Regions from separate parts of the Homo sapiens genome. Here regions 2 and 3 are each linked to region 1. Evidence: promoter capture Hi-C in 16 types of primary human blood cells and fetal thymus (Javierre and others, 2016). All regions are on one chromosome and are shown on one strand. Each heading gives the region's core, a stretch centred on a gene start or on the middle of the fragment in contact. The rest is flanking DNA. Distances are from core to core; before and after follow the strand shown. Region 1 holds the start of PSAP (prosaposin). Region 2 has its middle 16 kb from the start of CDH23. Region 3 overlaps DNAJB12 (DnaJ heat shock protein family (Hsp40) member B12).

Evidence for each region. The method cuts DNA at HindIII sites, captures the fragments that hold promoters and counts their contacts. A CHiCAGO score of 5 or more calls a contact.
Region 2: a fragment that was not itself captured here is called in contact with the fragment with the promoter of PSAP in region 1 in 8 of 17 cell types (naive CD4 T cells, naive CD8 T cells, neutrophils and 5 more); the score reaches 7.9 in naive CD4 T cells.
Region 3: a fragment that was not itself captured here is called in contact with the fragment with the promoter of PSAP in region 1 in 1 of 17 cell types (fetal thymus); the score reaches 5.4 in fetal thymus.

The regions. Positions count from the first base shown.
Region 1 is chr10:71,848,897-71,853,661 of GRCh38, reverse strand. PSAP (prosaposin) reads left to right here and starts at 2,411. Exons shown (of 14, transcript NM_002778.4): 1 at 2,411-2,480. The coding sequence starts at 2,441. RefSeq lists enhancers at 2,200-2,730, 2,731-3,261, 3,653-4,152. The HindIII fragment of the contact is 9,568 bases long and covers 1-4,465 here.
Region 2 is chr10:71,378,862-71,383,546 of GRCh38, reverse strand. It overlaps a transcript of SLC29A3 not described here. Among named protein-coding and RNA genes, the nearest start is that of CDH23, 16 kb to the left of the region's middle. The HindIII fragment of the contact is 4,435 bases long and covers 796-4,685 here.
Region 3 is chr10:72,338,077-72,342,652 of GRCh38, reverse strand. It overlaps DNAJB12 (DnaJ heat shock protein family (Hsp40) member B12), which reads left to right. Exons shown (of 9, transcript NM_017626.7): 4 at 1,483-1,668; 5 at 1,785-1,864; 6 at 4,342-4,451. Among named protein-coding and RNA genes, the nearest start is that of DNAJB12, 15 kb to the left of the region's middle. The HindIII fragment of the contact is 3,273 bases long and covers 1,349-4,576 here.

The DNA of each region.
Region 1 (4,765 bases), core at 1,162-3,661:
CATGGTGAAATCCTGTCTCTACCAAAAAATACAAGAAAACTAGCCAGGTGTGGTGGCGTGCACCTGTTATCCCAGCTACTCTGGAGGCTGAGGCAGGAGAATTGCTTGAACCTGGGAGGTAGAAGTGGCAGTGAGCTGAGATCGCACCATTGCACTCCAGCCTGGGTGATAGAGTGAGCCTCCATCTCCAAACAAAAAACAAAACAAAACAAAACAAAACAAAACAAAAAAAACAAGTCCTGGTTCAGGCTCTGTTGTTAACCAGCCCTGAGATGTCAGTAGCTCTATAAGATGAGAGGGGATGATCTGAGGTCTCTGAGCGTCCTTTTGGCTTGGGGTCCTGTAACCTCTGCATGGAGCACTGGGATGCTTTGCTCCTCCATCTGCAAGGAGCTGAAGGATGGGGGATTTGTCCTAGAGCCCCAGCTCCCTTGCTTTTTTTGTTTGTTTTTTTTTTGAGACGGAGTTTCGCTGTTGTTGCCCAGGCTGGAGTGCAGTGGCACGATCTCGGCTCACTGCAAGCTCCGCCTCCCGGGTTCACGCCATTCTCCTGCCTCAGCCTCCCGAGTAGCTGGGACTACAGGCGCCCGCCACATCGTGCGGCTAATTTTTTGTATTTTTAGTAGAGACGGGGTTTCACCCTGTTAGCCAGGATGGTCTCGATCTCCTGACCTCGTGATCTGCCTGCCTCGGCCTCCCAAAGTGCTGGGATTACAGGCGTGAGCCACCGCGCCCGGCTAGCTCCCTTGCTTTTAACCAGTTGTTGTGTGGTCTGCCCCACGCTTCTGCCTGGCCTTGGGAAGCCCAAAGGTGGAGCAGCCACGAAGTCTCCATCTGGCCACTGAGGCCGACCTGTGAGGCGTCCAGTTGAGACCACATCTTGTCCCAACTCACTCAGCTGCCTCACATGGCCCACTGTGGTGCATGGGGCACACTTCCCCATCTGGCTCCCCAGAGGAAGTCAGAGCTGTGGTGGGGGCTGGGGGCACTTAGGGAGATTGCAGGGGAGCAGAACTGAAGGTTCTGAGGCCTTAGTCCCTGGGGTTGTTCTCCAGAGCGGATTGCAGATTGGAGGAAGTTGGAGGAACTGTAGGTTTGCCCTTCCTGGGTCAGGAAACCTGGCTTCGGGCCAGGTTCTATCTCTACCTGTTGTGTGACCTTGGATAAACGTCTTGCCCTCTCCTAGGCTCAATGTCCCTACAGGTAAATGACCTCTAAGTGCCTGCCCTAAGGGGCTAAGATTCCCCTCCTTTCCCTGCCTTGCGGTTGGCAGGTTCTTATCCTTCTGGAGAGGGTCATCATCATTCTCTGTTCAGGTCCTGGCAGGGGCAGCCACAGGCAGAGGGTCTTTGGGTCTTAATTTCTGAAGGCTTCCATGTCACATAAAACGTTGATTACATAAATTTGTTATGCTTTTCTCTTAAGCTGTCTCGTTACAGGAGTGTTGGTTGTGACTCTTATGATCTCTTATGATGGGTGAGGAATGGTATTACATCTTTAACGGTACCACAATGTGAGGCTTAAAAGTTTTTTGTTTTTTTTTTTTTGGTGATGGGAATCTCTCTCGCTCTGTGGTCCAGGCTGCAGTGCAGTAGTGCGATCTTGACTCACGGCAACCTCCACCTCCCGGGTTTAAGCAATTTTCCTGCCTCTGCCTCCTGAAATAGCTGGAACCACAGGCGAGCGCCACCACGCCTGACTAATTTTTGTATTTTTAGTAGAGACAGGGTTTCACCATATTGGCCAGGCTGGTCTTGAACTCCTGACCTCATGATCCGCCCGCCTCGGCCTCCCAAAGTGTTAGGATTACAGGAGTGAGCCAGCATGCCCAGCCCAGACTTGCCTTTGACCAGGTGCCACCACCTGCCCCCACGTGCCCCTGGCCAGGACTGAGCCCTGTACCCTGTTACACGACTACTTATTCTATGTGAAACCCCAAGCTATTCTATGTGAAACCCGCTACTACAATGGGCTAATTTTTTTGTATTTTTTTTTTTGTAGAGATGGGGTTTCACCACGTTGCCCAGGCTAGTCTTGAACCCTCCGCCCGCCTCGGCCTCCCAAGTGTTGGGATTACAGGCGTCAGCCACCGCGGCCGGCCAACAATGTGGAGATTTAAAAGGTATTTTACATATATAATCTCTGACCTATTCAATTAGTAGGGCTTTTCTTTTATGACCTTTCCCTTCCCTTTCTCCAAGTTCTTCCTCACTCCTCCCCATAGCCCTTCCTTTCGCCCCTCCCATTGCCCCCTCCTATTGGCCTCCCCTTCGCGCAGGCGCCCTCAGAGGCGCTGAGTCAGGGCGCTGTTGAGCTCGGGCAGGCCCGGATGGGGCGGGGTTAGCGCCTGCGCTCTGGACGGCTTTGGGGCAGGGCAGATTTATATCTGCGGGGGATCAGCTGACGCTCCGCATTGCAGACTGCGGAGTCAGACGGCGCTATGTACGCCCTCTTCCTCCTGGCCAGCCTCCTGGGCGCGGGTAAGCCCTGGGACCCTCATCCTGGGGAGGAGGTGCCTCGCAGCGTCCATCTGCCCCAGAATGGGCTGTGCCGGGCCTGGCCCCTCTGCTCCCCCTGCCCTAGTTGGCAAGGGGGCGCGCGCACTGCGCAGGCGCGTTCGCTGGCTTTCTCTGGCTTTCTCTGGGCGGCTGGGGGCTGCGGGGGGCGGGCTGCGAAAATGCCCCCGGGAGGACGGCCCAGGCCCTGGGCAGCATCTCCTTCGGGGCTCGAGTGGGTTCCTGCGCGGCTGGGGCCCCGAGGCCTTCCCTCAGGCTGCGCTTCCCACTGTGGGGGTGGGTGAGTCTTGTAGGGTGACCCCTTGGGCAGCTGTGTTGTGCCTGTGCTGGGCGCACGTGATCGAGGTGGGCTGGAGCCCCGTCCCGCAGGACACTTTGGCCGTTGGCTTCAGTTGCCTGTTTGTAAGGGTAGCGAAGCTGCAGGAAGCACATGTGTATCATCTATATTGACGTTTGCATATGTATTTACTCTGGATTCTAGGTGTTGACAAAACGAGTCAAACTCTGTAAAAATATTTTGAGATTTATTCTGAGGCAAATATGAGTGACCATGGCCCGTGACACAGCCCTCAGGAGGTCCTGAGAACATGTGCCTAAGGTGGTTGGGATACAGCTGGGTTTTACATATTTTCGGGAGGCACGAGACATCAATCAAATACATTTAAGAAATACGTTGGTTTGGTTCAGAAGGGCGAAACAACTCAAAGCGGCGGGGGGCTTCCAGGCCATAGGTAAATTTAAACATTTTCTAGTTGATAATTGGTTGAGTTTATCTGAAAACCTAGAATCAATAGAAAGAAAGTATTCAAGTTAAGATAAAGGATTGTGGAGACCAAGTTTTATTGTGCAGAGGAAGCTCTCAGGTAGCCGACTAAGAGAGCGAGCACGTTGTAAAATATTTCTATGGAAATGAAAGGGTGACTGGCTCTTAGTTGATTATCTCCTGGATCTGGAGAGGAAGGAAGGAAAACATAGGGGAAAGGGGATTCTCTATAGAATGTGGATTTTTCCCACAAGAGACTTTGCAGGGCAATTTCAAGGTATGGCAAGGAAATATATTTTGGGGTTAGATATTTTGATTTTTTTTTCCTTGTCTTATAAAATGTTATGCCAGAGTCAGATTGGAAAGTAAGTCACGATATATGGGGTCAAATAAAACCCATCTGATGAGAGTTTATGGTTTGTAGGGTATGATTCCTACACCCCTTAGATAGGAATTTGGGCAAGCTAAAAAAAATCGGAGCTTAATTCTCATAGGTATTGAAGGCGATATAGGGTTTTCTGGTCCAGTTATTTTGCCATGGGGTCCTCATTTCACTTGCTTTGAAATGTCTTGCATCTGGGTGCGGTGGCTTATGCCTGTAATCCCAGCACATTGGGACACCGAGGTGGGAGGATCGCTTGAGCCTAGGAGTTGGAGACCAGCCTGGGCAACATAGCAAGACCCCACCTGTGAAAAAAAGAAAAAGAGAAAAGAAAGTCTTGCACGCTATTGGCCGTTTTTTTTTTGTTTGTTTGTTTTGTTTGTTTGTTTGTTTTTTGAGACGGAGTTTCGCTGTTGTTGCCCAGGCCGGAGTGGTGCAATGGCGTAGTCTCGGCTAACTGCAACCTCCGCCTTCCGGGTTCAAGCCATTCTCCCGCCTCAGCCTCCCAAAGTTCTGGGATTACAGGCGTGAGACACCGCACCCAGCCCCCACCACAATGTCTGTTTTTTAGTAACTATATGTAGTTTAAGGGCTGGCTGCCATTTTTAACCTAGCTACCCAAATTTTAATAAAAAGTAACAAAGTGGATGACAGGGTTGATGCAAAACCGAAGAAATGAGTTAGCTTTCAGCAGCTCTCAAGAATGTATCTTGACCCTATACGAAGCTCTTAAATTTGTTTTACTTGTACACAATGAAAGATGATCTGCTTATAAAAAAATCATTTTGATTTTATACTCAAGCTTATACTGCAGTTATTCCATGGTCTGTATAATAAACTAATGCTGGTCTCTAAATTTTTTATACTGATTCAGGGCAATTTTTTTTCTTTCTTTTTACATTATCCATTGTTCTTGTTGACGTTGAGTCACTCCTCACAAGACCCTTAAGAGTTCTGATTCATTCACATCACCCAAAAGGGACTCAATCGTGTCTCGGGAAATATAAAATCCACCTCTGGTATATATGGGCTTATGGTTAACCACAATATTTAGTTAACCAAGGGACCCTCTTCCGTGAACACTCGGGTAAATGGGAGGTATTG
Region 2 (4,685 bases), core at 1,764-4,263, 470 kb after region 1:
TTCTCTTGCCTCAGCCTCCCCAGTACCTGGGATTACAGGCGTGCGCCACTACTGCCTGGCTAATTTTTGTATTTTTAGTAGAGACAGGGTTTCACCACTTTGGCCAGGCTGCTCTTGAACTCCTGACCTCAAATGATTCACTCACCTCAGCCTCCCAAAATGTTGGGATTACAGGTGTGAGCCACTGCACCCGGCCCCAAAGAGTCTTATTATCAGATTAAATTATTGCTTACATATGATACAGTATAGGTAATAACGCACGTGAAGTACCCAGCTCAGAGTCTTGCTCCCTTTCCTTAACTCCCTCACATTTTGAAACTTACGGTTCACTTCCCAAGTCCTTCCTACGCTTCTCCCTAGGAAGGGCGGAGATCAGCCTCCTGATGCTGCCACTCTGATGCCAGACCCTGCCTATTCAGGGAATGCCAGGAGCCCTGGTTCCTGGAACAGGACTCCTAACCCAGGCCCAGTCAGTGTATAGAGAGGGCCCTCTATCACCTCCTAGAGTCACCCCCAACTTTATGGTGAGGACTTAACTTCTTTGCTGATTCATTGCTGTTATGATGAATGAGATCCCTCTGCTAGAGTTGCACAGTTACAACCACAGCAGCTGTTCATGGCTGCCCTGATGTTGAAATTCTCAGTAACTAAAAACAGGCGCACTGGGATACAGCCCCATACCAGGTAGGGTGAGAGGAAGGGCTAGCAGGCAGAATCCTTGTAGCTTTAGAAGGTCTCAAGAAGACCTGTAACTCCAGCTGAGACAGAGGCCTAGCTCCTCTGGAGGGCAAAGCTTAGACACGTCTCCTGATGCATCCAAATTGGGATGGGGTGGCTCTAGCTCTTAACGTTTGCAGGCCTTGTGTTTATTCTCTCTGAGCCTCAGTTTCCTCGTCTGTAATATGTGGGGATAATCCCTGGCCTGTTTACTTTCTCTGGTTGTGAGATAAAGAAAAATCTGAAAGTCTTCTATAAACTCTCCAGTCCTGTTGAGATGTAGTTCCACCCATAGCACACTGAATTCCTTTACTTATTTTTTTGAGCACACAGCTGGGCAAGGGGGTAGTTGGCTGGGGTTGTAATGGTGAGTACAATAGGCATCTTTCTTCCCCTCAAACATCTTGAGGGACAAAGGAGAAAAGAATTATCTAGCACCTTCCCAAGGAGCACTACAGCCTCCTTCTCCTTCCCTGCCTCCATTTCCTTCCAGGAAGGACTTCCTAGGTGACTCACATTGTGCCCAGCACATCACACACATATGTCACATCATTTGATCTTTCAGCCAACTGAGGCAGTGCCATCACCCCCATTTTAGAGATCAGAAAACTGAGGCTCAGGAAATGTAACTTTAAGCGGAGGAAGCTGGATTCAAATCCAGATTTTTCTGGGCTCTCCAATGAGAGTTAACCTCTGCACCATACAGGAAACAGATAATAAACAATTACTGAGGGCTTGTTAGGTGTCAAAGGACAGTGCCAGACACTTTCTGGACTTTATTTTACTGAAACCCTACACCGACCATGCCAGTTAGGTATATTAACCCAGTTTTACAGATGAGGAAACTGAGTCTCCAAGAGAATAAGGGAAGCCTCTCATTGCCATGCTGGTTGACGTCTTGGGAGTTGGACAGATTACAGTAATCAGCTAATGGCTGAGCAGTGCTCTGAAGATGAAAAGCCCTTATTGAAAGTGCTAAGCATGATGATTAAGTTGGAAGGTGGAATTAGCTGCACAGTGGGAGCAGGCTGCAGCCAACAGGAGAGGATTAGCGACTACTTGCCTGATTCTGTGGAAGGCAGGTTAGGAGCGAAAAAAACTGAGAAAGGTTTTCAGCTCCATGGTGGTGCTCACATCCAAGAGGATGAGACAGTCTGTGGACCTGCAAGGCAGTGATCACACCCCAGTGTTGAAGGGATCAGACAGCATCCATGGAAAGCAAAGTGGGCTCCCAGCTCCCTTTGCCTTTTCTCCATCCATCCATCCTTCCATCCATTCATCCACCCATCCATCCATCCATCCAACAATTACTCACCAAGGACCTAGTAGGCCTCACGCAAGCTCTCATGAGGCTCCCAACCCAGTGGAGGGAGATACACATTTAACAATAATCACATACCAAAGAATTATTGTTCATTTTTTAGATTTAATAACAGGAGCTTTGCTCTTTTGATTTTATTTTTTAAGACTTAACTTTTTTAGAGTAGTTTTAAGTTCACAGGAAAATTGAGAAGATGGTACAGAGACTGCCCCCACGTTGTGCACAGCCTGCCACAGTATCAACATCCCCCAGCAGAGCAGAGCATTTGATACAGTAGTGAGCCTGCACTGACACACCATCATCACCCCAAGTCCATAGCTCACATTAGGGTTCACTCTTGGTGTTGTACATTCTGTGGGTTTGGATAAATGTATAATGACATGTATTTGTGGTTATGTTTTATACAAGAGCCCTTATTTTTAGCAATACCTACCAAAACATTTACAAATGTGTTGCCTCAAATTAATACTAGGAGGCAGGAGTGAGTAGGGGTAGAGATAAAACAAGATTGACCTCGAGTTGATCATTGTTGAAGCTGGGTGATAGGTATATGGAGTCTGTGATACTGTTCTGTTTTGGGTTTTTCTGGTAAATGTTGGAAACTTTTCATAATAAAGTTTTGTTTAAAAAAACAAATATTGATAAATAATTAGCACTTATAATAAGTGCCACAAAGGAAGAATGAATGGCGTGATGAGAGATTATTGTAGAGGGACCCACTTTAGACTTGGGGGTGGGAGTAGGGGGTCGGTTTGGGACAGGGTGAAGCATTGGGGCATCCTTAAGCCTCGTGATTGCCAAAGTAACCCTTTCTGTCTCCTTCCTCCCAGAAGGGCAGGCTGGCAGTGTCCTGGGGAGAGACCCCTACCTTTTGAGCATCACTAGCAACCTACTGGGAGACCAGGATCCTGGAGAAGTCAAGATCAGCCCCAAAGTCCCTCATCAATTGTGATGGAGGGAACAGAGGGAAGTCCCAATTGCAACCTGCACCCATCGCTGTGCATGCCCATGTTGTGTGTGTACATTATTTACCTACTATGAGCACGGCCTCATTAGAACAACCTCAGGGGAGGGGAGCAGGACTCCCCACTTTACAGATGAGAAAAATAAGGCTCTGAGAGGTAAAAAAGGACTCGCTCAAAGTCAGCAGCAGAGCCAAATACCAAGGTTTATCATCTTGTTAGTGTCTCCCCAACCGCCCCCCGACCTGTTAACACAGCCATCATTCCTACATCGCAGGGAGAAAAATTGTTAACAAGACGGCTGGAACCTCAAGCCACAGGAGCTGTGGGCCCAGAGAAGGCAGGGCCATTCCTCTTAAGTGTAAAAGCCGTGGGGTGAGGGCATGCGGGAAGGGAGTGAGAGCTATAGTTTGCTGGAAATCTGAAGAACCAAATGACCTTGGGCCTCCAAACATGAGACAAAACAGAGTTCAGGGGTAAGCGCTCCTCCCCATCCCTTCTAGTGTCCCTCGGATGCAGATCTGGCTCAATTTCCAGGTATCTGTGAAAGGAAGGGTTCCAGCTCCAGGTTAAGGGGCACATGCTTGGTCACATGCTGTGGGCTGGAGGGTATAGGGATGGACCTTGAGGGAGTATGGGGTAAAGGACCTTAGGCACTGGGAGCCAGGGAGCTCTCAGGCCAGTGTGCCCCACTATTTCAGGCCAGCAGTGTCCACAAAGTGCACTCGGGATTTTTCCAAAGTGTCCAGCCTATAGCACTCCTCACAACAAAACTGGATCCCTGTATCAAAAGACAAAATGATAAGAAATTTAGCTTAAAGATCTCAAATGGCTTTATTGCAATTATAGAATCTGGCAACACTTCATTCCATAAAATAGAATAAGTGTTCTGATAAGCTGAGCAGAGGGAGTTGGTTTTATAGACAGAGAGGGCTGAAGGAAACAGAAGAGAAGAACAAAGAGCCTATTAGTTGCTTCAGAGCCACTTCCCTCACGAGGTGGGGACAGGGAGACAGAATGATAGAAAAACAACTGATTCATTAGCATCAGGTTACTCAACGCTACTTCTTTCATATAAGGAATAAAGCAGAGGGGATTCACTCTTGTGACCATTGAGATTTGAACTGGCCTGTTTGGGACATTGGCTGTTACCTCTTTTCAGGTAACTACTTAGTTTGGGTTTAGTGCCATGGAACTTTAGCATGGGTGACTCCCTTTGGATTTTTAGCCTGGTCTGCTGGGGCCTAATTCAGAAACTTAGTCCAAAACAATGGCCTCCTACAATTTTCATTTAACGCTTGCCTGCTCTGAGAAGAGGAGGAATGACAAGAGAGCAAAACATGGGCTGGCCCTCTGCCCTCACTGGTAAGGAGCTCACCTTTTGGACTCAGACCTGGATTCAAATTCTTGGGCAAGCCACTTAAATCCTCCAAACCCTAGTTTCCCCGTTGGGGGGCAACATCTCCCTCTCAACTGAGGCATTGTGAGGGTGAAGCAGACAATGAGAGCAAAGCATTTGGCAGAGCATTTGGTCCTCCCTGAAGCCAGCCATCGTCCTCCTCCTCACTGGGCAATGACACCTCCCCTAGTTGTTCTCATCTAAGGTGGTGTTTCTCTAGAAGCTGATCCCAGACAAGGATTAAAGTGCAAGTCGTTTATTAGAAGTGAATTCAGGAAGCTCCAGC
Region 3 (4,576 bases), core at 1,736-4,235, 490 kb before region 1:
AATAGCATGGTGACTAGCCCCCACTGGCCTGGGCGGGGTGTGTGCTGTGCTGCACCCACAACCATAGCCAGCTGGAGAGCCTGTGGCAGAGGAGACTCCGAGACCTGGTGTGCAGTGTCCCGGGGCCCTGGAGGAGGAGAGTGGGAGTGGGGGGAAGCAAGGTAGCCCTGTTGAATGTTTCTCCAGCCCCAGCCTCTGCCTGCAGCCTGCTCCGACTGTACCGAGAGGCCAGCTCTGGCCTTGAGGCCTATTCAGAATTGGCGGAGGAGACGATTCCGCGCTCCTTATTCCCGGGGGTTTCAGGATGGGAATCAGATGTGGCTTGGACCCACTCCTCGGAGTCAGTGGCAGCTTGAGGAGAGGGAGTGAGAGACTGAGGAGGTCAGAGCTGGGGTCCTTCAGGGCACAGCCGTCCCGGCTAGGGGGCCCTGGTGGGAGGCTCCAGGCCCAGATAGGAAATAACGGTTGGGGCCTGGACCCCAGAGAGTGGGGGACTCACCCCAGCTGCATCACCAGAAGTGGAGGAGTCTCCATAGAGCCCCGAGATTTGGCCCTTCCCCACAGCTCCTGCTGCTTTCCAGTTCACAATAAGGATATTGTGTGTCTGTCTGGCCTGCATGTCAGACTATGACTTCAGGTTTACAGAACCTCCAGAAAGGGATGCCCATCCTATTGGGCACGTCAAGAGAGAATGAGGAAAGAGGTTTTTGGTGGTTTTCATAAAGTCGGAGAGAGAACTTGAAGCAAGAGACACCTGCTTTTGTTTGACTCCCAGCTCTGTAACATATTAAAGCTGTGTAAGCTTAGGCAGTCACTTCTCTGAGCCTCAGTTTTCTCATTGGTGAAATGGAGATAGGGTTGCTCTTAGAGGTAAATGAGTTGACCTGGTGTGGTGGCTTATGTCTATAATCCCAGCACTTTGGGAGGCCAAGGTGGGAGGATCCCTTGAGCCCAGGAGTTTGAGACCAGCCTGGGCAACTTGGCAAGACCTCATCTCTACAAAAAATACAAAAAATTAGCTGAGTGTGGTGGTTCACGCCTGTAGTCCCAGCTACTCAGGAGGCTGAGGTGGGAGGATCGCTTGAGCAAAGGAAGTTGAGACTGCAGTGAGCCACGGTTGCTCCACTGCACTCAGCTTGGGTGACAGAGTGAGGCCCTGCCTCAAAAAATAAAATAAACAAACAAAAAGAAGTAAATGAGGCCACACTCCTAGGAGGCCTGGCACATTGACAAAGCTTGACCATTGTCTTGAGGAGAACAAGGAGCCTGTGTTACCCTCCACCCAGCCAGGCTGCCCAGATCCACTGAGGGGTCTTCCTGCATGCCCCCTCCTTACACTGGCCAAGCTTCCTGCCCACCCCAAGGACGTCTGCTTCCTAAAGCACTGCTTGAGTACCTGAGAAAAGTGAGCACTCGGCTGCCATGGGAGCCTCCCCCCGCACCCCAGGATCCTCAGGCCTGACCTTTCCTCCTCCTCTCCAGCCATTGGCACAGCATATGCGGTACTCAGCAACCCGGAGAAGAGGAAGCAGTATGACCAGTTCGGCGATGACAAGAGCCAGGCGGCCCGGCACGGCCATGGGCATGGGGATTTCCACCGTGGCTTTGAGGCCGACATCTCCCCTGAAGACCTCTTCAACATGTTCTTTGGCGGCGGCTTCCCTTCTAGTAAGTTCCCCACCCTCCCCACAGCCAGGTATCCCTGGGGTGATGGTGGGAATGGCATGCCAGCCTCTCCCTTTCCCAACAGACCTGGCTCCTGACTCAGCCCCTCTGACCCCCAGGTAACGTCCACGTCTACAGCAACGGCCGCATGCGCTATACCTACCAGCAAAGGCAGGACCGCAGGGACAACCAGGGTGATGTGAGTGAGGAGGGCGCCAGGGACAGCGCGGGAAGGGCACCAAATCCACCCCAGGGAGGGGGCTTGGAGGAGGGTGTTCCCTCCCACACTGTCCATTCTGGGACCAGCAGAGTCCCCATAACTCTCAGCCAAGGAGCCCTCTGGGCCTCCCTTGCCATTCTGCTGAGTGACACCAGAGGGCGCCACACGAGGGAGCCATGCTCCACATTGCCGGCGGGAGCGCGGCTTTGCTGGCCTGGCTGGGGAGTGGAACCAGAAACCCCACCCACAGCCAGGTTTGAGTGTGAGGCTCCCATGCAGACCGCTCGCTGGTAAGGCCAAAGTGACATCCTCTAAGCAATGGAAAGTTACACTTTGTGAGAGAATTTTATTTTATTTTTCATTTTTTTCATGGGTCTCAGCTATTTTCTCTCAACTTTGTGAGAGAAATTTCTTTTTTTTTAATTGAGATGGAGTCTTGCTCTCTCGCCCAGGCTGAGTGCAGTGGCGCGATCTCGGCTCACTGCAACCTCCGCCTCCCGGGTTCAAGCCATTCTCCTGCCTCAGCCTCCCGAGTAACTGGGATTACGGGTGCGTGCCACCACCCCCGGCTAATTTTGTATTTTTAGTAGAGATGGGGTTTCACCATGTTGGCCAGGCTGGCCTTGAACTCCTGACCTCTGGTGATTCACCCGCCTCAGCCTCCCAAAGTGCTGGGATTATGGGCGTGAGCCACTGCGCTCTGCCACTGAGAGAATTTTAAAGGATGACAACATAGGTGCCGACTCTTCTTGCTAAAAAGCCAAAAGATACTTTTAAAAAGATATTTACAAAAATTTGGGAGGCCAAGGTGGGTAGATCACCTGAGGTCAGGAGTTTGAGAGCAGTCTGGCCAACATGGTGAAACCCCGTCTCTACTAAACATACAAAAATTAGCTGGGCGTAGTGGCAGGCGCCTTTAATCCCTACTCGGGAAGCTGAGGCATGAGAATCACTTGAACCCAGGAGGCAGAGGTTGTGTTGAGCCGAGATCGTGCCACTGCACTCCATCCTAGGCAACAGAGCAAGACTCCGTCTCAAAAAAAAAAAAAAGTATAAAAATTATAACTAGACAGTGCTTCAAACACATTTTGTATGCCACAGATCAAAGAACAGCTAGCTGGCTAAAATTAAAATATTGTGGACAATTGCAAAACATTTTAAATTCTGGCCAGGCGGAAGGGGTTTCCTTTTGCTCTGACAATATTTATTCAATTTTTTTTTTTTTTAATTTTTTGAGATGGAGTCTCGCTCTGTTGCCCATGCCGGAGTGCAGTGGCACAATCTTGGCTCACTGCAACCTCTGCCTCCCAGGTTCAAGTGATTCTCCTGTCTCAGGCTCCTACGTAGCTGGGAGTACAGGCGCCCGCCACCACACCCAGCTAATTTTTGTATTTTTAGTAGAGACGGGGTTTCACCATGTTGGCCAGGCTGGTCTCGAACTCCTGACCTCGTGATCTGCCTGCCCCTTCCTCCCAAAGTGCTGGGATTACAGGCGTGAGCCACCATGCCGGCCTTTTTTTTTTTTTTTTGAGACAGGGTCTCGTTCTGTCACCCTGGCTAGAGTGCAGGAGCCTCCCCTCCCAGGCAAAGCTCCCACCTCAGGCTCCCCAGTAGCTGGGACCACAGGCCCACACCACCACACCCAGCTAATTTTTTGTATTTTTTGTAGAGATAGGGTCTTACTTTGCTGTTTGAGCACAGGCTGGTCTCAAACTCTTGGGCTCAAGTGGTCCTCCTGCCTCAGCCTCCCACAGTGCTGGGATTACAGGCATGAGCCATTGCCCCTGATCAAAATTTTTTTATTTTGTATCTAACAACAGAAGAGTTTAACATCACAGATTATCACACAGTGAATATATTTGTTAATTTTTATTTCTAATTCTTCTTTTTTTGTTTGTTTGCTTTTTCTGCACCCTAGAACCAGTGCTATTTCTAATTTTTATTTTGTTTTAATTATTATTTTTTGTAGAGATGGGGGTGTATGTTGGCCAGACTGGTCTTGAACTCCTGGCCTCACGTGTTCCTCTCATGTTGGTCTCCCAAAGTGTTGGGATTACAGGCATGAGCCGCCACACTGGCCATAATGTTTAAATTGGTAATATATTTGTGTGGTTCACATCTCAAAAACTTGTATATACTGCATGTCTCCTTCCAGCCCTGCCTTCCATTCTCCTGGAGGAAGCAACTTTTGCTGATTTTTTTTTTTTTTTGGCATTCTGTCAAAAGTAAATGCAGACACCTCACTTCCTCCTGTATTTCACACCAGTTGCTGCTTTGTTTTTATCTGGGAAAGCTGGCAGGTGAAGGAGCGTCTGTGTTTTGGAGCCTCGTGGAGGGAACGGCAGAGTGGTGTCATGTCTCCCCAGGCTCCACTATTCTAGGGGAGCTAGTGGTGATTATGGCTGACACCACACCCCACCCAGGTCCAGCAGAGTGACATTGGCTCTTCCCTCCAGGGCGGGCTAGGGGTGTTTGTGCAGCTGATGCCTATCCTCATCCTGATTCTCGTGTCAGCTCTCAGCCAGCTCATGGTCTCCAGTCCACCCTACAGTCTGAGTCCAAGACCGTGAGTACATGGGTGAGGCCGGGCCATGGGCAGACAAGGGGCTTTAAATTCTCAGCCCCATCAGGGGCCTTCTTTCCCATCCTGATCCAGCCAGTGTGCGATCATAATGCAGAAACCTGGCTTCG